Linked DNA regions of Homo sapiens: regions 1, 3 and 4 are each linked to region 2. Evidence: promoter capture Hi-C in 16 types of primary human blood cells and fetal thymus (Javierre and others, 2016). All regions are on one chromosome and are shown on one strand. Each heading gives the region's core, a stretch centred on a gene start or on the middle of the fragment in contact. The rest is flanking DNA. Distances are from core to core; before and after follow the strand shown. Region 1 holds the start of MAPRE3-AS1 (MAPRE3 antisense RNA 1). Region 2 holds the start of GTF3C2 (general transcription factor IIIC subunit 2). Region 3 holds the start of AGBL5-AS1 (AGBL5 antisense RNA 1). Region 4 holds the start of DPYSL5 (dihydropyrimidinase like 5).

Evidence for each region. The method cuts DNA at HindIII sites, captures the fragments that hold promoters and counts their contacts. A CHiCAGO score of 5 or more calls a contact.
Region 1: a contact is called between the fragment with the promoter of MAPRE3-AS1 here and the fragment with the promoter of GTF3C2 in region 2, in 10 of 17 cell types (erythroblasts, naive B cells, total CD4 T cells and 7 more). The highest score is 9.3, in erythroblasts.
Region 3: a contact is called between the fragment with the promoter of AGBL5-AS1 here and the fragment with the promoter of GTF3C2 in region 2, in 16 of 17 cell types (total B cells, naive CD8 T cells, total CD4 T cells and 13 more). The highest score is 30.9, in total B cells.
Region 4: a contact is called between the fragment with the promoter of DPYSL5 here and the fragment with the promoter of GTF3C2 in region 2, in 5 of 17 cell types (naive B cells, total B cells, naive CD8 T cells and 2 more). The highest score is 9.5, in naive B cells.

The regions. Positions count from the first base shown.
Region 1 is chr2:27,010,617-27,018,165 of GRCh38, reverse strand. MAPRE3-AS1 (MAPRE3 antisense RNA 1) reads left to right here and starts at 3,578. Exons shown (of 6, transcript NR_149018.1): 1 at 3,578-3,665. All of the region lies in intron 1 of MAPRE3 (microtubule associated protein RP/EB family member 3), which reads right to left. The HindIII fragment of the contact is 5,889 bases long and covers 1-5,379 here.
Region 2 is chr2:27,351,076-27,358,353 of GRCh38, reverse strand. GTF3C2 (general transcription factor IIIC subunit 2) reads left to right here and starts at 1,590. Exons shown (of 19, transcript NM_001035521.3): 1 at 1,590-1,615. GTF3C2-AS2 (GTF3C2 antisense RNA 2) reads right to left here and starts at 1,589. Exons shown (of 4, transcript NR_183827.1): 1 at 1,498-1,589; 2 at 452-546. RefSeq lists enhancers at 1,260-1,389, 969-1,582, 1,400-1,739, 1,790-2,069, 1,583-2,196. The HindIII fragment of the contact is 6,500 bases long and covers 1-3,978 here.
Region 3 is chr2:27,045,944-27,053,472 of GRCh38, reverse strand. It overlaps AGBL5-AS1 (AGBL5 antisense RNA 1), which reads left to right and starts at 3,209. Exons shown (of 2, transcript NR_046730.1): 1 at 3,209-3,293; 2 at 3,469-3,790. It overlaps TRY-GTA2-1 (tRNA-Tyr (anticodon GTA) 2-1), which reads right to left and starts at 2,691; the gene lies at 2,603-2,691. TRA-AGC8-1 (tRNA-Ala (anticodon AGC) 8-1) reads right to left here and starts at 2,259; the gene lies at 2,187-2,259. AGBL5 (AGBL carboxypeptidase 5) reads right to left here and starts at 1,805. Exons shown (of 15, transcript NM_021831.6): 1 at 1,680-1,805; 2 at 300-560; 3 at 1-71. The coding sequence starts at 514. RefSeq lists silencers at 1,305-1,354, 1,375-1,814, 2,218-2,512, 3,215-3,424 and enhancers at 1,551-2,050, 2,365-2,594, 2,765-3,054. The HindIII fragment of the contact is 15,630 bases long and covers 1-7,529 here.
Region 4 is chr2:26,843,846-26,850,499 of GRCh38, reverse strand. It overlaps DPYSL5 (dihydropyrimidinase like 5), which reads right to left and starts at 2,368. Exons shown (of 13, transcript NM_020134.4): 1 at 2,246-2,368. The HindIII fragment of the contact is 4,603 bases long and covers 169-4,771 here.

The sequences.
Region 1 (7,549 bases), core at 2,329-4,828, 340 kb after region 2:
GGAGTTTCCGAGCCACTTTAGGGACTTTGTTCTGCTTAAAGTGTATGAATTTCAAGGGGTGACTACTGAAGAAAAGGAAAGGCAATGGTCTTAGTCCAAATATATCCTCCAGTTTTTGATTGAAATCATTTGAGCCTCAAGGGTCTTCCAGCCTGGGGGCAGCTTTCCTGGTTCCACAGGATTGGACCTGCTAATGGTTCAGGCCTCTTCCATGCATTGCAGAGATTCTTTACTAGGAGAGTCCACTGGCTTCTCCTGCAGAGACTTCAAGAGGCTACAGTGCAGCCCAAGTGTGTGTGTGTATGATATATTATATATACATTATATGTTATATGCACATATTTTACACACACACACACACATAATTTTAAAGAATAGCCCAGATGATTCTGGTGCACAGCCCTGTATGAGAACCACAGCCTTCATTTGATATGCATACTTAGCTGTGATTTACTGGCTTTTGTTGCAATGGCAAAGGCTGGAACATTGGGATGTTCTGCCACTTATCTGGGGGGAAAATACTAGCCAGTCCTTGGCACACAGGGAAAATCTCCAGTTTCCCTGGAGTTTAGAACACAACTAAAGGCCTTGCTTTTAGGGCTCCCAAGAGTCACTAAGAGCCACATAGCGGCTTGAAAAATGCCCAGGTCTTCTCAGCATTGACCCAGTCTTGTCAATGCCTGATGAAGGGAGGGCATTTTCCATACCTTCGGTCTGACTCTAGGGTCCCATGAGTGGCAGCAGTGCCTGTGTGAAGGAAGCTGGAAAAAATGGCTCCTTTCAGGACCCAGCAACGAATCATGCTGTTACCCACTATGGGGCTTCTGGGGAAGCAGGTAGCTAGTAGCAGGAACACAGCTTCAGTCCCTACTCAGGACTCGCTCAGGTCCTCACAACTGGTGCTACACTCTGCCCTAATGGGGGTCCATTTGGCTCAGGAGGACTCATCCAGGGCACCCAGGGGTCTCTGCAGGAATTCTCTGCTGCACCTGCTAGGGCAGCATGAAGTAACAGCCTCCTTGTTTCCTTTGAGCAAACATCACATTGGGGAGGGCAGGATGCCCTTTTAATTTTCCTCTCGTAGCTTTGGCTCTGTAAGTAGAACTAAACATGGCCAGCAGGTGGCACCCAGGTCCTGAGCAAAAACTCCTTTAAATGTATCCCCCATCCCCCAAACCCCCTTTCCAGAGCTCAGTTTAGAGCTCAAATTGGGAGCCTCTAAAAGCTGGGCTGGCTGAGGGGCCTGGAGCATTGGGGCTGTTCTAAGATCCTGGACTGAACTAAGCCAGCCTCCGTATCCCCTAAAACCACAGTTTGAACTCACCAAAGAGGTCCAACTTCTGATTGGCTTTTGCATTGGGGGTTGACTTGGGCCTGGACTCACACCAGACCAGCTGCTGGGGGCAGAGGTGTATAAAGTATTTGCCCAAGCATCAGGGTCTAAGTGGACCAGCTGCCTCCAATTACAGCAAAGACATAACCTGCCAGGCGCGGTGGCTCACGCCTGTAATCCCAGCACTTTGGGAGGCCGAGGTGGGCGGATCATGAGGTCAGGAGATCCAGACCATCTTGGCTAACACGGTGAAACCCCGTCTCTACTAAAAATACAAAAAATTAGCCGGGCACAGTGGCGGGCACTTGTAGTCCCAGCTACTCAGGAGGCTGAGGCAGGAGAATGGCGTGAACCCGGGAGGCGGAGCTTGCAGTGAGCCAAGATAGCGCCACTGCACTCCAGCCTGGGCAAAAGAGCGACACTCCATCTTAAAAAAAAAAAAAAAAAAAAAGACATAACCTGACGAAACTCTTAATAATAACACACTTGTTCCCAAGAGCTCCTTCACCTCCCCGGAGAGAATGGTAGGTAGCCACTCGGAGGGGGCAGGCTCTGTCCCAAGAGATGTAGTAGCAGTGTCTTCCAACCCCATCCACATGTTTCTACCATGATCTTTGGCACATGTGACTGTCAGGAGAAACAGACCCTGATTGGATTGTGGCATGTCATCATCCAGGCGGATCCCCATTCGAGGATCAGACCGACAACGTGGCTTTGGGGAAAGCCTGCTCTGAAGGGCCTCGACTCCTGCTATCAGGAATGGAGCCAAGGGAAAGAAAAGTTGAGGAGGTTTAATCTGGTGATTTTGCTGAGTCATTTCCTATACTAGGACTGTAAGGTTCATGGTGCATTCACAGGCAACTGGGAAAGGCAATTACAGCTCTCATTGCGGGAGGGGAAGCTGCTGGTCATTCTGCAGACTGAGGCCTTAAAAATGGTCATCAAGACCAAATCCCACTAACCCATGGTCAGAAGGGTTTCTAGAGACCATCTGCTTCCTTCCCAGGCGATTAGGACTGCACTTAGATCTAGGCACTTATATTCTTAAATCATAAAGATGGCCAATAAGTCTGCACAACTGAAATTTCACATTCTATTATTTAATGACCTTATCACCAGCCTAAATCTAATTTTGGCTTTTTGTTTTTAAATCTGTCTTCCACAAATATGTCTTAAGGGTAATTTAGGGGCCCTCAGTCTTCTCTAATTCTCTAGAGCTCTTTTTACCCCAAGTTTAGCCCTGTTCTGGCTGGTCCCTGGAAGAACCCCCTGCAGTTTCCAGGCCTCCACCCTCTGCCCAGCGTGGCTATGAAAGACACACCAGGTCTACCAGTCCTGAAGGAGGTGGCCAGCATGCCTCCAGCAAGCTCCAGAAAGGTAGTGCTTAAGAACACTAGATCTCCAGGCACATCAGGTGGGTTCAAATCCTAGTTGTACCATGTCCTAGCTGTCTGACTTGACTTTAGGTCTCAGTGTCCTCATCTATAAAGTGAGGACAGTGACAGCTCCCACCTCACAGAACAGTTATGAGGATTAAGTGAGCCATGTGTACACAGTGCTGAGCACAGAGCCTGACATTCAGTATGTATTTGGCAAGTGCTGTCAGCATCGCGGGGACAGACAGTGAGAATCTAAGGGCATTTGTTCGAGGAGTAGGTGCCTGACACACAGCCAGCCTCTGGTCTCAGACCATGGAAATGCCAGTCCAGAAAGGAGACAGACTACAGAACTTTTCTCTGCTGCTTTGCCTTGAGACAGCCACATGGGCTTCCCAAAGCTGGGCTCTGACCACAATCCCTCCCCAGCTCCAGATTTCCCATATAGCCTGCTTTGTAGACGCCATCCTACCGGCCAAGACAACTGGAACAGATGCTGTGGGATCAGAAGAGAGAGAACTCCACAGAGCCAGCCAACACGTTTCCCGTTCCTGAAGTGGGACTATGCCCATTGTCACTGGGCTACCCCTTCCTGCCCAGGCCCGGGGGCTGAAGTCACCTGTTTGGAAAATCTGCAAAATTGCTACCCCTACCCCTGTGAGTCACACATCCAGGTTATTCTGGGCTTGCATGGAGGCAGTATGTGCAGGTGGGGCTGAGGGGTTCTGAGGGGCTGGGGAGCAAGCCAGCGGGTCACAAAGCCCTGGCAGACCTGGCCAATCACCTTCTTCTTATGGCTGAGCAAGGACCTGATTCATTGAGAGGCTCAGCCTCTCAAAGCTGGATTAATCAATGCAGAGACGGGGCAAGTGGAGTATTTGCAGGGTTGGCCTGGAGCCCAGCATGCGCCCCCTCCCACACATCCAGGACAGGGATCTGGACGGCTGTGGGTTCAGGTAGGGACTGAAACTCCTCCAGGATTTTGTTCTCACAACACTTTTAGGTCACAACTCTAAGACCCTGAGCCCTGCTGAAGTTCCAGCCACTGGGATCCTGGACATGTCCTGCTGAATAATGATCTGAACTCTTACTAAGGCTCTCCCCAGGCTGGTTGGGATAATGGTGCCACATCCCTGTAGCTGCTAGCCAGGGAAGGAGTCCTTGGGGTAGGTTCTGGCTAGGTCACCCTATCTGACCATAACTTCGAGGGTTAACGGAAACCCTGCAGTATAGTAAACAAAATTTCTCATCGCTAAAATCAATCCATTTCAGTAGGGTTCATCTAGGTGGGCAGATAGGCAATATTTTCTTTCTAAACGTTCTTTGCTGGAGATCTTTCAGTTCCTCAAACACCTACTTTTTAGGTCAACAAATGTCCATGGAGTCACCCATCAATCCAAGGCTCCCAGCAGAAGGCAGACAGTGTGACTTGGCTACAGGCTTTGCCATTCGCTGCCTGTGAGACACAAGCAAGTAGGCGAAGATATCCAAGCCTCAGTTCTCATGAAGCATCAGAATGATGGTATGATTGAGCATGGGGCTGTTGGAAGGATAATGAGTACCGCTGGCAGGAGCCAAAGGTTCACCATCACGCTGCTTTGGGGGCTGAGCAACCTTTACTGATAGGCAAGATCACTGACATAGACATATCTGACTCAACATCTTCTTTCCTGCACCCTGACCCAATTCCCACAGACCCTCTGATCAGGGTCCTGAGCAGGGAGAGAGTAGGGACAGCCTTGGGTATCCACTCTCTGCTGCCTCAGGCAGAAAGACAGAGCTGTGCTTTTGAAGCTATGTTGCCCATTTCTTCCCTCAATTAGTACTGGCTCAGGGCTCAGTGCACAATAGCTTCTCAGTACCTATATATTTATTGAATGAATGAATGAATGAATGGGAGAGGTTAAACTAGGGTTTGGGGGGTTCAGATGGCAGGTGGACTCAGAAAGTGTGGTTTTCTGCTTTTATTTCTTGTTTGTTGACCCTGAGGAGGTGCCACTGGCTACATGGAGAAGCAAGGAGAGGAGAATGCTAGCTGCACTCCCTGGCTACACGCAAACAGATGCAGCACGAAGCCTTGGGAACCTTGGCAAGGGATTTAAACAGTCTCCCTCTAATGCATATAACATGGTGCTGCTGGATTTCCCAGAACAGGATTTTAAGATGGTTCCGAGAGTGGAACCTGGTAACTCCTGGGAGCACCTCTCTGCTTGGTCTGCTCTGGGGGTGGGCTGCTGGCCCATCTGTGGCTAGCCTCAGGATAGAGGGAAGGGAGCTGCAGCAGCTGCCATGACGTGTTGGGAAGGGAACTGTCATGTTTGCAGCAGCCCTGGTGGGTCTGATGTTTTTTTAATTATCCTTCAAGTTCCAAAAGCACATCCATGTCTCTGGGGACACATAACAAGCCATGTCACTTTATGTTCCTTTGGAACTATGTCTCTTTGGACTGTCTGGCTTATAGTTGTTGTTCAGGGCCAAGTGATGTGTCACCCTTCTCTGAAATGTCTGCATCCTGTGAATTGTTTAGCCTACTTTCCCCTGACCCCAGGCTCAGGCCCCTCTTCTCTGCTCTCACCATACCTTTCACCCCACATCCAGTCCCCTCCCAAAATCCTCCCAGTTTTACTTCTGTGCCCTTTTGAGAGGGCACAGTCATTTATACTTTAAGCTTTCCACCAGAAAGTCGGATGCTGAAGATGTCCAGGACAAACTTAAGTTTCAGTGTTTGTTGAACTCTCTGTGCCCTCTCCAGTAGACTGCCTTTCCTCATGCCCTCAGACTCTACTCTACCTGCCTGTTCTGCAGGACTAACCCCACGTGGAGACAGTCAGCCCCCACCCCAGTGGGGACATGCACTGGAGAGCTTCCAGAAGGCCTGCAGATAGCTTCTCTCCTGCCCTACCATAGTGCCCGAAATTCCCACCAGAAATGCCACTCTTGTGGATTACAGCATCCAGCTCCAGAAAGCCTTTGAGTTGTTACCTCAATTTTGCTTTTGAGGAAATGAAGGATGAGGATTCCAGTGACTTTTCCAAGTTCAAGATCAACCACTGGCAAGATCAGAGCTGAACCTGGCCAAATGAACACAAATCCCATGCTCTTTCCACACCACCACACTGGTGCAGGAAGGACGATTTGATTTTTCACAGCTCTAGAGCAGGATGACTTGCCCAGATTTCACCCCTTGAGAATTAGGAGGAGGGAAAGGGAATTTCAGAGGATTTCTTCTTCTTCTTCTTTTTTTTTTTTTTGAGATGGAGTCTTGCTCTGTCACCCAGGCTGGAGTGCAGTGGCATGATCTCGGCTCACTGCAACCTCCACCTCCCAGGTTCAAGCAATTCTCCTGCCTCAGCCTCCCGAGTAGCTGGGATTACAGGCGTCCATCACCATGCTTGGCTAATTTTTGTATTCTTAGTAGAGATGGGGCCACCATATTGGCCAGGCTGGTCTCAAACTTTTTACCTTGTGATCTGCCTGCCTCGGCCTCCCAAAGTGTTGGGATTACAGGCATGAGCCACCATGCCTGGCCCAGTTTTCTTCTTTATACTTATTTTTTCAAGACATTGCAGCATTGCCTTAACCTCTCTCTTTCTTTTTTTTTTTTTTTTTTTGAGATGGAGTCTCGCTTTGTTGCCCAGGCTGGAGTACAATGGCATGATCTCAGCTCACTGCAACCTATACCTCCCTGGTTCAAGCAATCCTCCTGCCTCAGCCTCCCGAATAGCTGGGATTACAGGTGTGTGCCACCACACCCAGCTAATTTTTGTATTTTTAGTAGAGATGAGGTTTCACCGTATTGGCCAGGCTGGTCTTGAACTCCTGACCTCAAGTGATCCACCTGCCTCAGCCTCCCAAAGTGCTAGGATTACAGGCATGAGCCACCAGGTCCGGCCTAGCATTGCCTTAATCTCGACCAGCAAGTGCTTACTGACCACTGACAAAATGCTCAACACCCAGTGAGGCATCATGAGGACATGGGATCATTTCAAGGCATGGGTCTTGTCTTTATTAAGGAGCTTTTCTTTGGTTGAAGAGGTAAGAGTAATTTATAAAATAACAAGGGACGCCACAAAGCAGAATATATGAAGTGCTAAATAGTGAAAGCACCTTTGGCTTTTAAGTGTTCCAGGCACATGAAAAAGATGAGAGGGGGATCAGCAGTTAGAGGGTTTCTGGAGGAAGGTGGCACCTAATTGGGCCTTTAAAGATGACAGGATGCCAGAAAGCAGCGAGGAGAAAATGGGAAATTCTGGACATGGGAAACATATTTATTATTACTTTTATTTTAAAAAAAGAGCATAAGACCAATGACTCAGTCCTGGAGGAATGTTAGGGACGCGATGAAAATAGAGGAGGTGGAGAGAAGGTGATGTCTTAGGAGCCAAGGGAGGGCCCACTTTCAAAGAGGAGGTCATCTGCCCTGTTTAATGAAGCTACCAGACCAGAGGTGGCGATATGGTCATTAAATTGTGCAATAAGAAATGATGAAACTCTGAGTCATTTTGTTGGAGTATGGGGACAGCAGCTAGACCTGCAGATGATTGTGGAGTCCTTGATCACTTGCCCAGGAGGAAGCTGGAGAGGGACATCAGGCATTTGTCATCACAGCCATGTGTGTCTGCTGCAGCACTTCAGGTAGATAGTGAGTGACTGCCTGCAGGGTGGAGAGCATTTTGGTTCTTTCAGTTAAAATTTGAAATGAAATATAGATTGGGCCCGGGTGCTGTGGCTCATGCCTGTAATCCCAGCACTTTGGGAGGCCGAGACAGGTGGATCACCTGAGGTCAGGAGTTCGAGACCAGCCTGGCCAACATGGCAAAACCCCACCCCTACTAAAAAT
Region 2 (7,278 bases), core at 341-2,840:
GAGGTGGCAGGTTGAGGCTGCAGTGAGCCGTGATTGCACCACTGTCCTCCAGCCTGGGTGACAGAGCAAGACCCTGTCTCAAAACAAACAAACAAACAAACAAACACCTAGTAGAAATTAGAGGCAGAGAAGTAGATCAGTGAAAAGATTGGTTATAAATCAAAATTACAAATGCACCTAAAACTTTGGTTCACAATTCCACTTCTAGAAATTATCCTACCCATATAGTTACACATTTGAAGTAATTTAGATGCAAGGTTACTTATAGCAGTGTGATTTATAATAGCAAGGGACCATTGTTTATAACAGCAAAACCATGTAAATATGCATCAATATCAACAAGGCACTAGTTATACCACATCCACCCAATTAAATGCTAACTAGTTATAGCACAGAATGAGAAAGGTTTTTGTGTACAGAAATGGAATAATGGCCAAACTCAGTGACTTACACCTGTGATCGCAGCACTATGGGAGGCTGAGGCAAGAGGATCACTTCAGGTCAGGTGTTCAAGACCAGCCTGGTCAACATAACGAGACCCCATCTCTAGAAAAAATTAAAAAATTAGGCCGGGCGCGGTGGCTCATGCCTGTAATCCCAGCACTTTGGGAGGCTGAGGCAGGCGTATCACAAGGTCAGGAGTTCGAGACCAGCCTGGCCAACATAGTGAAACCCCTTCTCTACTAAAAAGACAAAAATTATCCGGGCTTGGTGGCGGGCGCCTGTAATCTCAGCTACTCGGGAGGCTGAGGCAGGACAATTGCTTGAACCCGGGAGGCGGAGTTTGCAGTGAGCCGAGATCGCGCCACTGCACTCCAGCCTGGGGACAGAGCAAGACTCCATCTCAGGAAAAAATAAAAATAAAAATAAAAACGGGGTCTCACTATGTTGCCCAGGCTGGTATCGAATTCCTGGGCTCAAGTGATCCTCCCCCGCCTTGGCCTCCCAAAGTGCTGGGATTACAGACAGGAGCTACCATACCCAGCCAAAGTCATGCTTTTCTACTCCTACTCCTTCCCTTCCTTGTCCTCTTTCCAAGCTCTCTCGGGCCCATCCCTGACTTCACTACTGGCAGAATCCTCCAGCGGCCGGCGGCGAGGACTTCTTTGTCTCCCAGACTCCGCCTTGGGCTCGGACGCCGCCAGGGTTGCAGGTACAGACTCTCTGGTCTAGCTGGCTCTTCCGGCCACAGGCGCGGCAGTCCGGCCGGAAAGGCCGGATTCAGGGATCCAGAGCGCGAGCCCGGCCTGGGAGTCCGCCTACTCCCGGCTCCCGTCGAGGCCGCGTGGGATCCCGTTGGCCGCGCAGGCGTCGATCTCCCCTTTTTGACACTGCAACTCCCATGAGGCCCTGCAGCGTCCCTGGCGCCGCTGAAGACGCCCTGGAACTCGGCTGGCTTCGGAGGGCTCGGTGACTCTGGCCGCGCTGCATTATGGAATACAGAGTCTAAGAGAAAACTAGCCCGGCACCGACTCCGGACCAAGCACACGTGTTTACCTTGTGCACTGGGGTGGGGGCGTCAGTGAAGAGCAGCTAACAAGATTTCGTCATAAGACCGCGACCAGACAGGCGGCGCCATCTTCGAACTTAGACTTCCGGAAGGACTTTGGCGAGGGTGAGTGTATCGCCGCAGCGGGTGTGTGGGGGGCCCCACAATTACTCCTCCCCCTTCTTTTGCCATAGCACTAAGATATTGGGAACAAACTCCTGGCTCCGCTCTTCTCCCAGCCACAGCAGCGCGCCTTTCAGCGTCTGCGCTCCTACAGAGCACCATCATGCTCCGCACCTTCCCTACTGTGGCCACCGTGCACCCCCCATCTCTGCAAGCCTCGGGTCTTGCCCTCCTCCCCCACGCGGTGTCGGTAACGCGGAAGCCTGTGTCCGGGCGTAGGCGCTGCATACGTAGCGTCCCTCGAACTCGGCGAACCTACAGTAGTCCTTGTTAGAAAAACCAGGGCTCCTCTCCCGCACAGGCTAGGGGAGAAATCTACCTTCACGCCCAGGACTGAAGAAGGGCAGGTGATGGCCCCTAGAGTGGTTGTGGGTCAATCTCTTTCAGCTGTGTCCCAGCCTCTTCCTCGAGGAGGCTCTTTAACCCCGAGGGTTGTGCCCCGCGCGCTGCAACGCCATTGGCGTAACCAAGGGCCAGTTGTGTTTCCCTGTCTAGTCCTTTTGTCCCGTGGCAAGTTGGCTGCCTGTTGGGGAAGTCAGAGGTGGCGACTTCAACTCCGTCGGAGGCAACTCACTTTGTTGGAGGGATGTATAGGGTATGGACAAACCTCTTTGTTCCAGAGGCATATACAATTTTAAGTCAATCCCGTGCCATCACTATTTTTGCAATCTCTTATCAATTGTACTATTGTTTTCTGAATAGTTCTCTTTAAATTGACTTACTTAAAAAGTTTAAATGCATTAGTCTCGACCTAAGCAATATAAATGAAACCGTGGGTTTCATGGGCTACTTATAATTGTTTATGTAAGTTGAAATAAAAGCACTAGTCATTAAAATGTTCGTTTTCGTACCATTAAAATCATCTTGCATACCGCCAGTTGTACCCTAGGAACACTTTAGGAAACAATATATTAAGCTAAGCAGTGTATTCAAAGTAATTTCATACTTAAGGTGCAGTGTTGTGTCATTATTTTTTCTTGGCTGGGGAGGTCAAGCTGGCATCCTGGAGCAGCATGGGAACCAGACAGATTGGGGTGCAATGGAAGGTTTTAGAAACTCAGTACGAATTTACTGATCATCTATTCCTTTACTGTGTATCCAGAATTTGTACCATTACATCCTGCTGCTGCCTTCCATGAGAAGTGTATTTTTTTTTTTTTTGATACGGAGTTTTGTTCTTGTTGCCCAGGCTGGAGTGCAGTGGCGTGATCTCGGCTCACTGCAACCTCCGCCTCCCGGGTTCAAGCGATTCTCCTGCCTCAGCCTCCTGAGTAGCTGGAATTACAGGCGCGTGCCACCATGCCCGGCTACTTTTGTATTTTTAGTAGAGACGGGGTTTTACCATGTTGGTCAGGCTGGTCTCGAACTTGTGACCTCGTTATCCGCCCACCTCGGCCTCCTAAAGTGCTGGGATTACAGGCGTGAGCCACCGTGCCCGGCCAGGCAAATTATATGTACAGGCAATTCATAAAAGTCATATGGATGTCCAATATATAGAAAGAAGTTGCTGACACCAATTATTATCAGTGCAAATAAATAGAGTGGGGAAGAATTCTTTCACCTATCAGATTGGCGAAAATTAAAAAGATCAGTAACGGTATGATAAAATGGGTACTAATATACATAAATAGTTTTAATTTTGGTGAGCCGTTTGGTAGTATCAAATTTTGAAATGTGCATGTTCTTCAGTGTAGTACAGTAATTCCATGTTCAGATGATTATTCGAGAAAAATAATTTATTGATGAATTAATGAAGAGATTTGTACTAGAATATTTATTGCAGTATTTTTTGAAATAGTATTTTAACTCATTTGTTCATTAAATGAAGATTGTCTAAATAACTAATTCTATGGAATGCCATGCAGCAATTAGGAAGAATGAGATAAATATATGTATACTGATGTAGAAAATCCTTTAAAAAAAACCGGAATCTTCCTCTGTCACTCAGGCTGGAGTGCAGTGGCGTGATATCGGCTCACTGCAACCTCTCCCTCTGCCTCTTGGGTTCAAGTGATTCTCCTGTCTCAGCCTCCCGAGTAGATGGGATTACAGGCGCCTGCCACCACGCCGGGCTAATTTTTATATTTTTAGTAGAGATGGGGTTTCACCATGTTGGCCAGGCTAGTCTCCTGACCTCAAGTGATCCATCTGCCTTGGCCTCCCAAAGTGCTGGGATTACAGGCGTGAGTCACAGCACTTGGCCTAGAAAATCCTTAAGACTTGTATAGAAGCTCTCTTAACTGATTTCCATTTAGCTCCTTATGTTAACTGACATACTCTTATTTCCTCTCTAAATGCTTGAAGCTTGAAGGTTTTTCTCCTGTAGACGTGGTCAGTCTGCTTCCACTAGTTGAGTTGAATGCTTGCCAAGAGTCATTGTATTGGTTCCCACTTTTTTTGAGACAAGATCTTGCTCTGTCACCCAGGCTGGAGTCGAGTGGCATGATCACAGCTCACTGTAACCTTGAACTCCTGGGCTCAGGCGATCCTCCTGCCTCAGCCTCTCGAATAGCTAGAGCTACAGGTATTTGCCACCACACCCAGCTAATTAAACATTTTTGTTGTTGTTGTTGAGACAGGATTTTGTTATGTTGTCCAGGCTCCCACCCTTTTTTTTTTTTTTTTTAATGTTTTGCTTTGTCTTTATACATACGTTATAGGCTGGGTGTGGTGACTCAAACCTGTAATCCTAGCACTTTGGAAGTTGAAGCTAGAGGATCACTTGAGCCCAGGAATTTGAGACCAGTCTGAGTAAGATAGTTGAGACCCTGTCTCTACAAAAAAAATAAAAATTAGCTAGGCCTGCTGGTGTGTGCATGTGGTCCCAGTGACCTGAGAGGCTGAGATGGGGAGGAGCACTTGGGCCCAGGAGGTCAAGGTGCAGTGAGCCATGATCATCGCACTACTGCATTCCAGCCTGGGTGACAGGGGAAATAAATTTTAATATGAAAGAGTTATTGTTTCTATTAAAACTAAGTTGATTGGGAGGCCGAGGTGGGTGGATCACCTGAGGTTGGGAGTTTGAGACCAGCCTGGCCAACATGGTGAAATCCCATCTCTACTAAAAGTACAAAACTTAGCTGGGCATGGTGGCACATGCCTGTAATCCCAGCTACTCAGGAGGCTGAGGCAGAAGAATCACTTGAACCCCAGAGGCGGAGGCAGCGGTGAGCAGAGAGCATGCCCCTGCGCTCCAGCCTGGGAGACAGAGCGTGACTCTGTCTCAAAAAAACAAAAACAAAAAACTAAAAAACTAAGTTGAACCATAGATGGTTGTTTGCTCCTTTTTTTTTTTTTTTTGAGACGGAGTCTAGCTCTGTCGCCAGGCTGGAGTGCAGTGGTGCAATCTTGGCTCACTGCAACCTCCTGCAAGCAATTCTCCTGCCTCAGCCTCCTGAGTAGCTGGGATTACAGGGGTGTGCCGCCACACCCAGCTAATTTTTGTATTTTTAGTAGAAACGAGGTTTCACCATGTTGGCCAGGATGGTCTCGATCTCCTGACCTCATGATCTGCTCACCTCAGTCTCCCAAAGTGCTGAGATTACAGGCATGAGCCACAGCGCCCGGCCTTTTGTTGCTATCTTTATAGTATTTTATATGAAGTAAAAGTTTTGTGAAAACAATTCTAAAAAAGTAAAGGAAGCAAACTAAAACTAAATTGAATGCTTTAGAAAGACAAAAGAGGTGAGTTTGCAAACAAAAAAGCTGCCAAATAGGTGTGAATGAGACAACTGTAAAAAATTGAGGGAATTTTGTAAAACTGTGGAATTTTACTGCTCGTTGAATTGCTTCTCAAGAAAAGTGAATGTTTCAAGAAAGTAGTGTTGGAGCTGCTGAGAGGTCAACTTGAATGAGGCTGAGAAATGTCCATTGGATTAATAATACAGTGATTATTGATGATTTTAATTTCACTGATGAGTTGGGGGACAATATGCTTCTTAGGATGATGCAGGGAAATTAAAATAATCAAGGAGCTTTTATTTATATCTTAAACTTTTTTTATATCTATATACTTTTATTTATGTCTTAAAAGTTTGACTGTAGGAGGAGGAGAATATTAGTGGAAGGAGGAATATGGGGTGAAGGATAGTTATGTGTGAAGATGAGAATTATAAACATATTTAAATGCTGTTTGGAAGGAGCCAATAGAAAAGAAATGGATAAACTAATTCCAGTTCCATTAGGAGATGGGGGAATGGGGCTAGAACACAAGTGAAAGGTTTGGTGTTAGAGAGTGAATGAAGGTGTCAGAGGCAGGGAGTATTAGCTTACTTGGCAAAAAGTTGAAGTATCTCCCACCTAACGGCTTTGGTTTTGTTTCGGAAATCAAAAGCAAAATCATCTGCAGAGAATCGGGATCAGAGAATGTGTAGGGGGAGAGCATGTAGGGGCTGACTAGAGAGAAAGTGGGATTGCCAGTGCTCAGCAACTTAGATTCACACATAAAAGAGTTGGATGGTTGAACTTAACAGGGCTTGAGTTTTGCTAAGCATGTGGAACAAGAAGATGAATATCAGCGAGAATCTGATTGAAATGAAGGAATCTAAACTAGATAGGATGTGGCTGACATACAGAGAAATTGGAGAGATCAAGGGATAGTGGCTTGATACAGCTGGAGAATAAAAGTGATAGTGGGTAAGCAGTCTAGCTGTAATGATGGGAGATCAGATAGTTAGATGTCTTAGTGATTTTGGAGGTTAAGAGGTTTGGGTGATGACAAGGTTCAGAGAATGACAGCAAAGTGAGTAGCTGCGGTTTAGCTGAATGTTCTAAGCATCAAAGGAACAAGATTTTTACAAGATGGGGGGCGTGTGGGACTGTTGGTCTGCAAGTGGCATTGCAGAGGAATTGAAGGGACTGATCCCACTTTGAACCCTGAGGTAGGTGGGATGTGAGTGAATGAGCAACTTCCACTTGAGAGCCTGGAAAGTGAGAAATTTCATTGTCTGGAATTTTTTGCATCCAAGATTCTGAATATGATTTAGGTTTTACAAATCAAATATGCTCCTGGAGAACTTAAATTTGAATCTGATTTTAGAGAGGAGAAAGGCAGACTAGGAGGCATGTATTTGCTGGTGCAGATTTTGGCAGTGATGAGGTTCTGGATCAGGAGCTAGAGAAGCGGCTCTCCTATTTAGTTAGGTCACTTTCTGATTACTGCAGACACAACTTGTTTATGGAGCCATTGGCTGTGGTAGGGGCTTGTTGATTCAGCAGGTGGTTTCCCATCATAGCATATGTTTTGTTATTATTTTATTTTATATTTTTGAGATGGAGTCTCACTCTGTCACCCAGGCTGGAGTGCAGTGGCGCGATCTCAGCTCACTGCAGCCTCCACCTTCCAGGTTCCAGCGATTCTCCTGCCTCAGCCTCCTGAGTAGCTGGGACTACAAGTGCACGTGGCACCACGCCCAGCTAATTTTTGTGTTTTTAGTAGAGACGAGGTTTCACCATGTTAGCCAAGCTGGTCTCAAACTCCTGACCTTAGGTGATCCGCCCTCTTCAGCCTCCCAGAGTGCTAGGATTACAGGCGTGAGCCACCATGCCCGGCCTGCTATTTTTTATTTTTAGATACAGGGTCTTGCTCTGTGAGGATGGAATGCAGT
Region 3 (7,529 bases), core at 1,960-4,459, 310 kb after region 2:
TCATGTTCATAATGTTGATCTTGATGAGTTTTCCTGGCATTCCTCCCCGGACGCTGAAGTAGAACCATGACCTGAGGACCAGAGTAAGAGAGAGGTCATTACGTGTGGAAGGGTTGGAGATATGGTCTGTGGGAGAGCCGGAGCCAGCCAAACTGGGAAAGGGCTATTTGGCAAGGAGAAAGGAGGGACGATGGGTCAGAAATGGACAGGGAGTATGCTGGGTATGAACAGATAAGTCAGAGGGCTAACTGAAGCATGGGTTTGGAGCCTTTTTCCACCCTCCATTTCGTTCCATATACCTGTTCCCATTCTCAAATTCCGTTTCAGCACAGTCTGGTCGGGTCCACACGTTGAATTCATAGTCAGGGGAAGAGGCAATGCCACTGGTCAGGGCTGACGCCCCACCTCCTACCCCTTCCCCATCACTGGACAAAGATTCCACCTTCTCCACGTGGGCTAGATTCCCTGAATCAAAGCGAGAACTGAACAGCAATCCCCCACAGCGCAGCTCCATGGTGGGGCTGGGAAAGCATCCTCCTGCCCCGCTCTGGCCCTGAGAGCTGGGGGAAAACAAGGGTTAGGTTAAGGAGGAAAGGGAAGACAAATCGAAGAGTTTTCTGGGTATCTCTTGATAAATAAGAGCTATTCTTAGGGAGTGCCCTATGAAACAAAAGGCTGTCTCCCTCTTAGAAAACATAGAAGTGGTCTTCCAGCAAAGGCCAAGAGAAAGCAGCATTCTGTACCCCAACACTAAGGGTTGTAAATGACCTAAAGGGACCCCATTTTACTTTAGCTTGGCTGTTCCCAAATAAAACTCAGTGGCTTAACTATGTTGAAAAACACTAAACTCTCAGCTGCTTTGCAGCCCAAAGATTAGAGAATATAATCAGAGAGGTCAGATTTTCCAAACCTAGCCAAGATACACTCACCACCATACATGGCCACCTTTAGAGATGGGCCGTTCTGGATCTCTGGCTCTGCACTCTCCAGCACAGAGCAGAGAGAGGAATCGAGGTTCTGAGTGTAAATGGGTAGTCCTCTCTCCAGCCTCTGTCCTCACAAGTACTGAGCGGACATTCTGGTGTTGCTCCCCTGAGCCCTGGAAGGGCTGGTTCTTCCTTTTTTGTTCCTACCTTATGCCTAGTATGGAGAAAAACTATAACAGTGGTGCCTCTGCCAAGCCAAAGGCTACTGGGCTCACCTAGCGACTGGAGCTCCCTTCCAGCCAGGGCATGGGTCTGTTTCCATCCCCCTCCGCCCCGTAAGCACTGCACCCTGAGAAAGCTACCCTAGTAGCTGTGGATGAGTAATGGGTGTTCTCAGCACCCCTAAAAGAGGTGGGCTGCTAGAGTCCCACTCGGGGGAAGGAGGCTGGCTTCTCCACCCTCGACTCGCGGGGAACCGTCACACCGAGCGGGCTTGCCCTGGGCAGGGTGGGACTGGGAGGCATGGAAGGGGTCGAGACGGGCTCCCGCGGCAGGGGATTAGGCAGGGAGGGCCTAGGAGTCAGAGGTGAGGCCACGGAGCTGGGCGGGGTCGGGACCGCGTAAGCCAGGTCGGGAGCGGGGTGCGGGGTGGCCTTCGAGGGGCTCGGGCTCAAGGGGCTGAGAGAAGGGGGCGGGGCCGGGGCTGGCGGGGCCGGGGCTGGCGGGGCCCGTAGTCCGCGCAGAGCCCCTCACCTCTCTCCGGGCCGGTGATCCCGCTCCCTCTCCCGCTAGCGAGGCCGCACCTTGGGCCCCGGCACCCGGGCCCTCCACCCGGGCCCCCAAAAACACCCGAGCGCCGCGGTGCCGGGACCCCGCTCTGCCAGGAAACAAGAAGTCTCTCGCCTATTGGCCGTGGCTGCAGCTGGCGACCCGCCCAGTAAAGCTCGCTACCATTGGTCAGCTCTCAGGGTTCCTCGCACGTTAGTGGGTACCTGAGCGAGTGTCGTTCGGGGACGATGGCGGGCAGGAGCGGCCGGAGGGTTCTAGCAGCGTCTTCCGGAAGACGGTTAACGGCCTGCCTGCCGGGAGGCGGGAAAGATAAAGCGGCAGAAACTGGGACTCAACTGCGAAATAAAAAGACATCGTGTGAAACTCCTTATCGCTTAACAGTCTTGTGTCTCTAAAATGAAACACGTAGCCCACTGCGCCGGGAATCCCTCCCGTTTTGTGTTCTGTAGTGTGACGGACGCAAAAGCTGAGTGGAGGATGCGGGCATCGATCCCGCTACCTCTCGCATGCTAAGCGAGCGCTCTACCATTTGAGCTAATCCCCCGCCTGCTGCTTAGTTCTTTCCCTTTGCCTTACAGGTTCACTGCACTGTTCACTGACCAGTGGATCAACCACAGTTCAGGACATTTATTTAGCAGAGTACAATACAGTGGCATCCATGTGCAAGATTCTAAAAATCAAGCATATAATCGTGTGCTTAAGCAGAAAACATTCTAAAACACGTTACCACATGTACATTGAACGCAGAAAGAGCGTTACCGTATACTACATACTACGGTGTTCCCTATGGACTGACGGCAGTACGAATGCTAAGTCACAGGAGGCCTCCAAGCCTTTCCCCTTATGGGATAATTGAATTAAATTGAGGTTAAAAATTACAGACGAAGTCCTTCGAGCCGGAATCGAACCAGCGACCTAAGGATTGCCACGCCCTATCCACTACAGTCCTCCGCTCTACCAACTGAGCTATCGAAGGCTCCGCTGCGATAAGATGCTGCTGATAGCCCTCTAATGCTTACCGCAACCTCATCCAGCCATGACCCCCGCTTTCTCCAGCTGAAGGAACCTGCCAGGGCAGGAGACCCATGGGACCTCACAGAGCTGAGAAAGCCGGAGACCCAAAGGCAAGGAAAAGAAGCTGCCCAAAGTCCGGGTTCTCAGGCCAGAACGGAGGCCACACCGGCCCTGAGCTTCCCGGCTTTTTAACAAAATGTTCCCAACACCCCGCGGTGGTTTCTCCTGGACCGCGAACGCCGAGCCCGCCGCCGCCTCCTGGAGCTCCGGGGCAGCGCTTGTGCCGCGGTACCTGCACTCACAGGGGCTTTGCGACCGCGACGCGCAAACCCTGCTCGAGAGCCGATGGGCCACTTTGGCTGCTCCTGCTCCACATTTCCCTTGGCTTCTCCGGACGTGCTCTCCTGACGCGAACGACATTCGCTCGGCCAATTAACTCAGGTTTTGTCAGGCTCTATTCGTCCTGACCAGTGCAAGAGAGACGGCGACCGCGGGGTGCTGCAGGCTTCGGCGCGGCGCATTATCGGGCTGTGCCGAACCCCCCGGGCCGCCCTGGGATCGCGGGCCTGGCGGCGTGGCCCGAGGGCTCGGGGAGAGGGCTACGCGCCAGGAGAGGGCGGCGGGGCTGCAGTACAGGCTTTCCTGCCCTCGGAAGCGCTCGCAAGCCTGGGGGATTCCCCTGCGGTAGACCTGGGATGGTGGGCGGCGCGCGGCCGGGTAGGTCCCTGCAGCCTCCGAGGCCCACGTGAGGTCGGGGTCGGGGCGGCTGTACAGTGCCCAGCACAGGCCACTGGCCTCCCTTGTGGGTCTTTGCACAGGTCCGCTTACTCTCGGAAATCTTGGGTTCCCCAGGGCCGGGGAAGGGTCTTCTGCCTGGTCTGGGGCCCCTCCCCCGACACTGTGGATGTCTAGGTGTCCCGGGTGGGGTCAAGGAGTGACCCCACGGGTTCCCCCATCTTTGTCCCTATCCAGCTCACACCTTCGCCTGTCTTTTGCATGTGTTTTTTCCACAACCTTTTGTTCACCGGGTTTTTAACAACAGAAATAAACCTAACCCCCAACTCCTCTGTGAAGCCCTGCTTGGTCGTCCTGTGGGGTGGGTGTGCCGGAAGACCTGGCCTCAATTTCCAGCTCTGGGCCAACGTCCTGTGCTACCTTGAGCCAACATCGCCCGCGAATCCAGGTCTGGTGATGCTTTCTAGCCCCTTGCAGCTCCAACATTTGATGGGTTCTCTCGGGCTGAGCTTTAAATCCGAAGTTTCTAGATATAAAGTTGTGTCAACATTTAGATAGAAGAATATAGAAGATCTGCATAGCTTTTATTATTCAATATCAAAAAATCACATTCATGGCCAGGCGTGGTGGCTCACACCTGTAATCCCAGCACTTTGGAAGGCCGAGGTGGGCGGATCCCCGGAGTTCAAGAGTTGCAGACCAGCCTGGCCAACATGGTGAAACCTGTCTCTACTAACATACAAAAATAATTAGCAGAGGATGGTGGCGCGCGCCTGTAATCCCAGCTACTCCGGAGGCTGAGGTGGGAGAATCGCTTGAACTCGAGAGGCGGAGGTTGCAGTAAACCGAGATCGCGCCACTCCAGCCTAGGCAACAAGAGCGAAACTCCGTCTCAAAAAAAAAAAAAAAAAAAAAAGCAGCCGGGAGTGGTAGTGAGCTCCTACCACTCCGGTAATCCCCAGCAACTCGGGAGCCTGAGGCAGGAGAATCGCTTGAACTTGGGAGGCGGATTGCAGTGAGCCTAGAGTGCGCCACTGCACAACAGCCTGGGAGACAGAGAGAGACTCTGTCTCAAAGAAAAGGCCACACGCGGTGGCTCACGCCTGTAATCCCAGCATTTCGGGAAGCCGAGGCGGGTGAATCACCTGAGTTCAGGAGTTCGACACCAGCCTGGACAACATGGAAACCCCTTCTCTACTAAAAATAAAAAATTAGCCGGACGTGGTGGCGCATGCCTGTAATCCTAGCTACTTGGGAGGCTGAGGCAGGAGAATCCCTTGAACCCAGGAGGCGGAGGTTGCAGTGAGCCGAGATCGTGCCACTGCACTCCACCGTGGGCGACAGAGCGAGACTCCGTCTCAACAAACGAACAAACAAACAAAAACCTCTCAACAGAAAGAAGTCCAGGATCAGAAGACTTCCATGTGAATGCTACCAAACATTTAAAGAATTAACACCAGTCCTTTTTTTTCTCTCAGATCACTAAATGAAGGTAACACCAATCCTTTCAAACTGTTCGAAAGAATAGAAAAGAAGGGAACACTTTTTAATTGATTATATGAGGCCAGCATCATTCTGATGGCACAGCCAGACCAAAAGACCACAAGAAGACTACAGATCAACATCCCTTATGAATATTGATGCAAAAATCCTCAACAAAATACGAGCAAACTGAATCCAATAGCATATTAAAAGGAGAAAACCATGACCAAGTTAGACTTATTGAAGGAATGTAAGGGTGTTCAACATAAGAAAAATAAATAAATGTAGGCCGGGCCTGGTGGCTTACGCCTGTAATCCCAGCACTTTGGGAGGCCCAGGTGGGCGGATCACCTGAGGCCAGGAGTTTGAGACCAGCCTGGCCAACACAGTGAAACCTCATCTCTACTAAAAATACAAAAATTAGCTGGGCATGGTGGTGCACGCCTGTAATCCCAGCTACTCGGGAGGCTGAGGCAGGAGAATCACTTGAACCCAGGAGGCAGGGGCTGCAGTGAGCCGGCCACTGCACTCCAGCTTGGGAGACAGAGGAAGACTCCATCTCAAAAAAAGAAAAAAAGAAAAATAAATCAATGTAATATACCACATTAATAAAATGAAGGAAAAAAACTACATTATCTCAATTGATACAGGAAAGGGTGACAGAATTCATCACCCTTTCATGAAAAGTAGAAACTCAGAAAACTAGAAATAGAAACGAACTTCCTCAGCATGATAAAGAACATTTATGAAAAACCCACAGCTAACATAAAACTCAACGGTGAAGGTCAGGAACAACCACTAAGGTCAGGAACAAGACAAAGATGCCTACTTTCACTGTTGCTACTCAACATTGTACTAGAATTTCTGGCCAGAACAACTAAACAAGAAAAAGAAATAAAAAGCATCCAACCTAGAAAAGAAGAAATAAAACTATCCCTATTTGCAGACTATATTGTCTTATATATAGAAAATACCAAAGAATCTACCAAAAAACTATTAGAAGAAAAAAAAACTATTAGAGAAAATTCAGCAAAGTTGCAGAGAACAAGATCAACATGCAAAAAAACAAATTGAGCTTCTTTACACCAATAATGAACAGTCTGAAAGAAAATTAAAAATGTAACTTCTGGGCGTGGTGGTACATGCCTGTAATCCCAGCACTTTGGGTGGCTGAGGTGGGAAGATGGCTTAAGCTCAAGAGTTCAAGACCACCCTGGGCAACATTGTGAAACCCCATTTCTTAAAAAAAATACAAAAATTAGCTGGGCATAGTGGCGTATGCCTGTAGTTCCAGCTACTCAGGAGGTTGAGGTGGGAGGATCACCTGAGTGCAGGGAGGTTGAGGCTGCAATGAGCTGTGATCAAGCCACTGCACTGCAGCCTTGGTAACAGAGTGAGACCCTGTCTCAAAAATAATAATAATAAAATAAGGCCGGGTGCGGTAACTCACATCTGTAATTCCAGCACTGTGGGAGGCCTAGGCGGGAGGATCACTTGAGGCCAGGAGTTTGAGATCAGCCTGGCCAACAGGGAGAAACCCTGGTCTCTACTAATAGGAAGTGGTGGCTTACATCTGTAATCCCAGCTACTCGGGAGACTGAGGCAGAATTGCCTGAACCCAGGAGGTGGAGGTTGCAGTGAGCTGAGATGGCGCCACTGTACTCCAGCCTGGGCAACTGAGTGAGACTCCGTCTCAAAACAATAAAAAGTAAAATTAAAAAGAAAATAAGAAAAATATTTACTACCTGGAAACTAAATCTTTCTCTTTGGTGGGAGGCATCGTAACTTAAAATATGTGTAGTAGGCTGGGCGTGGTGGCTCATGCCTGTAATCCCAGTACTTCGGGAGGCCAAGGCGGGCAGATCACGAGGTCAGGAGATCGAGACCATCTTGGCTAACACAGTGAAATCCTGTCTCTACCAAAAATACAAACAATTAGCCGGGCGTGGTGGCACATGCCTGTAGTCCCAGGTACTCGGGAGGCTGAGGCAGGAGAATTGCTTGAACCCGGGAGGCGGAAGTTGCAGTGAGCCAAGATCGCGCCACTGTACTCCAGCCTGGGTGACAGAGTGAGACTCCGTTTCCAAAAAAAAAAAAAAACAAATGTGTAGTAATTTCCATGGAGCTGTCTGGGACAGACTGGATATCTCCTGGCCTTCCAAGTGAGGTGAGCTGTTAATAATAGCACCCACTCATATATCTGAAGAGTATATCTATGGATGAAGTCTAGGGTATTTGGAAATATATAAACTATGAAAGGTGTAAATATGTTTTATTGTAGATAATGTATAAGATAGCTATTTAAAACAACTGTAAAAGCCACAGAGTGGGAGAAAATATTTCCAAAAGACATATCTAATAAAGGACTGTTATCCAAAATATACAAAGAACTCTTAAAACTCCACAATAAGGGCAGACACAGTGGTTCACACCTATAATCCCAGCACTTTGGGAGGCAGAGGCAGGAAAATCGCTTGAGGCTGAGAGTTTGAAACCAGCCTGGGTGACACAGCAATGTCTACAAAAAAATTTTTTTGAATTAGCCTGGCGTGGTGGTGTGTGCCTGTAGTCCTAGCTACTGGG
Region 4 (6,654 bases), core at 1,119-3,618, 510 kb after region 2:
CTTTAACTTGTCATCTAACCAGTTATCAAAGCAACAGTGCAACACAGAATTCTGGCTTTGGGTGTCACTTCACATGTCAAGGCGCTGCAGCGGTGACTTGCAAGGTGTTTAGACGGCGGGCGAGAGGCTGAGTGCGTGGAAAGCCCTGCTGAAAGCCTGTTTTAAGCTTCCATTCGGTTCATCTGCTTTCCCACGGGCAAGCAGCGCCTATCACAGAGCTACCCCAGTCTTAGGTCAGCAGACAATATGGGCGAAGTCTGCAAGAGACGCACTGGCTTGGGTGTGGTCACTGGCAAAGAAAAGCACTGGACCCCTAGCAGCGGCTCCCAAACCTAGAGCCTCACCCTTGCGGGATCATTTCCACCCGCTTCTCCGCAATTTGACCACAATCCGCACCAGCCCTTACGGCTCCCCCTGAGAAAGCACAGCTGCAGCCCCTAGACTACGGCCGCCTCGGCAGACAAAGCCGCTGCTCGGGGGAACCCGCGCTGCACCGAGGCGACCTCCAGTCTTTGGCACCTGCGTCGCCGCCCGGCAGCTCCGCGCCGCTAACCACGCCGCGTCTCGGCAGCGGGTGGACAGCGCGGGGCGGGCGGCGGCGCTGCACCAGAAGGCACCCGAGCCGGAGTGGGGGGGTGGCTGTCTGCAGGCCCCCAGGCCGGGGGAGCGCCTCCCACACGGGATTCCCGGCGTGGCCAGGCCCCCATAAAACCCCAAAGCCAGCACGTGCCCGGAGGTTCCGCAGGGAGTATTCCCAGCACCAGAAAACTGCACCCTCGCGTCCTGGGTGGCCCTGGTTTGTCGTCGGATGGACACCAGGGTCGGCTATTGTTCTCCGGGTCTCCCCGAAGGGAGATCCGCCTCCCTGGCAGCACCTGCTGCTGGGCAAAGCCTTTCAGCTCCTCGAGAAAAGGGCGTGCCGTGGGCGCCGCGGAAGATCACAAAACCCTAAGCGAGTCGCTACCGGCTGGTTTCAAGCCTGGAGACAAAGCTCCTCACCAAGCCAGCCCAGCCCGGTCCCGGATCTGCCATCCTGGGTCCCTAACCCCGGTCCGAGGGCCACGCCCAGCCGGCCACCTGGGCCGCGGGGCCCCGCGCCTGGAGCTGAGGATCCTCGGGCCCGAGACCGCCTCTCAGCTGCTTGCCCCTCCCTCCTCGGGAGGCTCCCCTTCCCAGGAGGCCCCCCTCCCCCGCACAGCGCGGGTCTTCTCCTCGCTCCCGTCCTCCCTCCTCAAACCCAGGCGGCCTCCACCCGCCTGCATCCCTCCTCCCCTCCCCATTCTTCAGCAGAACCAGCCTCGCCGGGCGCCACCTGCACCGAGCTCCTTCCCTCGTTCTTCGGACCCGCCCCCGCCCCTTCTCTTTCCTCCTCAAACCCTAGTTCCCACTCCCTGCTCCCCGAGACCCACTACCTGTCCTAACCCAGCTCCCCAGCCTTCCCCATCCCCATCTTTTCTCAACCGAGGCCTCCCCTCGCCCTCTCCCGGCTTCTCTCCAGCTCAGACTACAGCCCCGTCCCCAGGCCCGGGGCGTCGACGTCGGTGCCCGCTGAGATCGATGCTGCAAGGCGGGCTCCCGCGCTGGGCTCCAGCCGAGGGACCCGGCTCGGCGCCCGCTCCGGGCTGGGCAGCCGCAGGAGGCCTTTGTGGCTCAGGCGGGAGGCTCGGAGGCGGCGGGCGAGTCCTCTGCAGGCGTCCGCTCCGTTAGCCGGGCGGTGGAACAGACCGCCGGGTCGGGTCCAGGCTGGGCAGATCCCAGCTCGGAGGCGAGAAGGACGGAGGGTGTGTATCTGGGTGGTGTGTGGGACCGGGGACAGCGCAGATCCTGGGACCGGCAGGACTGGCCCCCGGCCAGAGGCGCCCCCGCCCAGCCCTCCAGCGGTCCACTGCACCGCGCCCGGCTAGGAAAGCGGCCCACTGCGTGCTAGGCGCGAAACCCCTCGGCCGAGCCGCCTCCTCACCCCAGGGCTTTGCAACCCCGCGAGCACGCATTAAACGCTTACTATGAGCAAGGCCCGGCACGGCGCTTCGCGGGCGTACAAAGAGGACCCCAAGAGCGCCCCGGCTTAGCCCCGATGGCCACCTCCCAACCCCAAACCACACCTCCCGCCGCGTCCCCTGCGGCCGGGCCCCAGGCTCACCCGGCTCCCCGCCCTTTTGTGCGCCTCACGCAGAAACAGAAGGGGGAGAGGAGGATGTCCTAGCCCGGGAGGGGTAAGCCCACCGACCCCCCTGCCATCACCCACTCCTCCGAGATGCTGCGGCCGCGGGGGCCCGTGGCTCGGTCCGTCTCCGTCTCGCCGCGGCGCCGGAGCTGCGGGTGCTCGGGGCGGCGGCGGCTGCACGCGCGCTCGCTCGGGGGCCGCCTCAGCGCGCCCAGCGCGGGAGTCCAGAGTGGGGAGCGGGGGAGGGGCGCGTGTCGGGGGCTGGGAGCGGCCTCCGCCAATCACCGCGCGGCCGGCTCCTCCCGCCGCTCCCCACCTCAGCTAGCAGGTTAAGGGGAGGCGGGGACAGGCGGCGTCCCGCATCCTTGGCGCCGCGCGCCGCCGCCGCCTGGGGACTACAACTCCCGGCAGGCCCTGCTGCAGGGCCGGGGTCCGAGAGCGGACGGAGGGCGCGGCCGGAGAACTCACCGACCCCCCTAGCACCCGGCTCCGCGTTCCCTCGGGTTTCCATGGCGACTCAGGACACCACAAAGCCTGGACGCGCTGAGGCACGGGTCCCCAGGGAGGGCCGGGGGCGGTTCCGGAGGACACCCCGCCTCCCCTCCCCCAGCTGGATCCCACCCCAGGGGCTGAAACAATGCCGCGGCCGCCTCTCCCGGGCTGCGGCCGCGCTGCCCTCCGCCGCAGGACCCCGCCGAGGCCGCCTGGTTCGCGCCAAGACCCGCTCCGACGCCCGCGGGATTGCGGGATGCAAAGGGCCGGGTGGGCGTTATAGGAAAACTGTTCTCATGAACAAAGTGGACGGCCACTTGGGGCCACCGCAGTTCGCATCTGCACCCGGGGAGGTCTCGAACCCGGAGTGCGTTCTCTCCACTGAGAAGATTTTGCCCAGCGCCACGCGGGTGCTTCCCTGTCCAGAGCGCTCAGGCCCAGTGCCTGTCTTATTTCTGGCTTCTGTCAAGGGACAGCGAAGCCTTTGGAAATTATTTATAACCCAATTTACATTCGCTTCACCTGTTTCTTCATGTTTAAATACATACATAATTTACCAAAATAAACAAATCTAAAAAAGGAGAGGAAGGATCATCCCCGGTTTGTCCCACCTCCCTAGCTAATCCCGGTTCAAGCCTTTGCCATTGATCTGTGTTATTTTCTGCAGTTGTAATAATAGTTTGGATTAGTCATTTGCCTCTTTGCACTTAATGTCACTCCAAAGGCGTTGCGATGCGCGTTAAAATGCAGCATCAAGGACCTCCAAGCTGCAGCTGCAGAATCCCTCCCTCCCCGGGCTCCCCGGCGATCCGGTGGGGAGAGGAGTCCCCTGGCAGCCATGGCCTCGTGAGGTGGTTCTCTTTGCAGGATACTTTCAAACAAAATGGTGTTCACTACTCCGGGGGCGTGGAGGGGGTCCCCTCTCCCCATCTCAGCAAAATCTACCCGGGCGCAGGACCCGCAGAGCCCGCCAAGGCGGGGTTCCCTGCCGTCCTTCCCCAGAGAGCTTAGGGCCTGGACCAGGCCAGGCTGGCCTTTGAGGGATGCATTTCTGGATTACCCCACCCCTGAGTCTGCACTCCTTCTCCCCTTCCCAACTCCCGCCTGCTTGGTAAGCAGAGAGCAGGGAGCCCCCAGAGGAACCTCAAAGCATCCCTAACCCAGTGCAGCCCGGGATGTGGCTGTGAAAACTGCTCCAGCTTGGGGCACTGCCCTATGGATTCTCCAGGGCTTGCCCGGACAGGGATGTAGGCAAAATGGACTGGGCTTCAGGGAGGTGGCGTGGAGCTGCCAGCGGCCTCCCGGCGGCGGGGTTCCGAGACTACCGCGCGCGGGCGGTGCTGCGCTTTTTGCTTAAGGGAGAGAGAGCCCTCTAGTGACTGTAAATGTTTTCTGCAGCGTCTCGTAGACCTTAAATTTGGATTCTAGCATCTTAGCTTTCTTGGGCTACCTTCCCTAGTCAGCGAAACGGCTGCCTCTACGTCATCTGTCAGTTTAGGATATTGATAAAGGTTGCACCCAAACCGGGGGTTGCATATGTCCTCAGTCCTCGACTTCGGTTTGTTGTTGCTAACTTAGGCTCCGTTTCCTGGGAAGTAGAAAGAGCACAGAGCTGGGAGTCCCGCATTGCTGGGTTGGAATCCTTGCTCCTTCAGTTTCTGCCGACTTGACCTTGAGAAAGTGACTTACTCCATCTGACCCTTAGCTCCACCCAGAATACTGGGGTCATATACATTCTTTTAACCTTGTCGTGGAAATTAAATGAAGAAAGGTAGATAAAGGCCATAGCACATTGCCTGGCATAGTGTGCATGCAACAAATGCAGCTATTATTATTTATCCCACAGAAAGTGGTTATTGAACAGTGTGAGGGATATAAGAATATGTGACACTCCCCACAGTAACAGCCACAAAAGGCAATATGTTGTGATTTTTATTATAAAGCTCATATTACTACTCGGTCAGATAAAGTAGAATAAGAATTCAGACGAGAAAGAAAGCAGTTCTGCATAACACTGGGAGATGGAGGAGCTAGAATTTGGATTTCACCTGGATATTGATTTGATGGACAGTTCTAAGCAAAGGTCTGAGATTCTGGGGTGAAGGAGCAAAAGCTTATGGGTGGGGAACCCAAGCGGGTATTTGGAAGACAGCAGAAGAACCCACCATGTCTTGAAAGTCAAGTCCCTGAATGAGGGTGATGGGAAGAGAATGGGGATGGTGAGTTAGGCAGGGGTTGGGGGTCAGACCTCACAAAGCCCAGGGCTACTGGTTTTTATGAGTAAATGTGTTCTGAGTTCCCAACAGCCTTAACAAACTTCAGAATAAATACAAGTTAAAGACCACCATGAAAGGAGGAGGGAGGAAAATCGCACTGTCTGAACTCCTATTATGAGCCCGGGTCTATTTGGTGTTTTACAACACATCATTTAATCCTTGCTACTCCACACAGGAGGTAGCATTGCTCATTTCTTACAAATGAGGCTATCTGGATTTAGAGAGGTTAAACGATTTGCCTGCGAAGTCACACTGCTGTAAGCAGCAGAGCCAGGATTCCAAAGGACATCTGCCTGGTGCAAAGCTGAGCCCTTCCTGCTTCAGCACGTCCTCCCTGCCAGCCTCCAGAAGGCCGGATCTCCAGTGCAGAGAGAGCCTGTGACGGTGAGTGACCCTCAAGGAGAGCCTGTTGCCAAGTCATGGAACCCAGATGTTCCTTCCTCTGCAGCGGCAACCTGTTCCTCCTCGAAGTGCCCCCGGGAAAGGGGCTCTCCAGTATTCCCAGGAGCTTTGTATAATATTAAGTTTCCTCCTCATCCTTCTCTTTTCACCTTTTTTTGCTCCTTATACTTCTCAGTGACAACCCTAGTGTGGGGAACACATTGTGAAGTCTAGTTAGCCATTAAAAAAAAAAAGTGAGGCCAGGTGCAGTAGTTCATGCCTATAATCCCAGCACTTTAGGAGGTCAAGGTGGGAGGATCACAAAGCCCAGGAGTTTGAGATCAGCCTGGGCAATATAATGAGTCCTTGTCTCTGCAAAAAAATTTTAAAAATTAGCTGAGTATGGTAGCAAGTGCCTGTAGTGCCAGCTATTCAGGAAGCTGGGGTGAAAGCATCACTTAAACCCAGGAGGCAGAGGTTGCAGTGAACCCAGATTGCTCCAATGCACTCCAGCCTGGGTGACAGAGGGAGACCCTGTCTCAGAAAGAAAAAATAGGCCAGGCATGGTGGTGCATGCCTATAATCCCAGCACTTTGGGAGGCCAAGGCGGGCGGATCACCTGAGTTCGAGACCAGCCTGACCAACATGGAGAAACCCCGTCTCTACTAAAAATACAAAATTAGCCAGCCATGGTGGCGCATGCCTGTAATCCCAGCTACTCAGGAGGCTGAGGCAGGAGAATCACTTTAACTCGGGAGACAGAGGTTGTGGTGAGCCGAGATCACGCCATTGCACTCCAGCCTAGGCAACAAGAGCAAAACTCCATCTAAAAAAAAGAAAGAAAAAAAAATAGGCCGGGTGCGGTGGCTCAGGCCTGTAATCCCAGCACTTTGGGGGGCCGAGGCAGGTGGATCACCTGAGGTCAGGAGTTTGAGACCAGCCTGACCAACATGGCGAAACCCTATCTCTACTAAAAATACAAAAAATTAGCTGGGTGTGGTGGCAACCGCCTGTAGTCCCAGCTACTCGGGAGGCTGAGGCATGAGAATCACTTGAACCCGGGTGGCGGAGGTTGTGGTGAGCCGAGATCGGGCCACTGCACTCCAGCCTGTGTGACAGAGCGAGACGCCGTCTCAGTAAAAAAAGAAAAAAAGAAAAAAAGAAAAAAAGAAAAAAAAATTTGGCCGGGTGTGGTGGCACAGGCCTGTAATCCCAGCTACTCCAGAGGCTGAGGCCGTAGAATCGCTTGCACCCGGGAGGCAGAGGCTGCAGTGAACTGAGAGCTTGCCATTGCACTCCAGCCTGGGTAACAGAGCAAGACTCCATCTCAAAATAAACAAA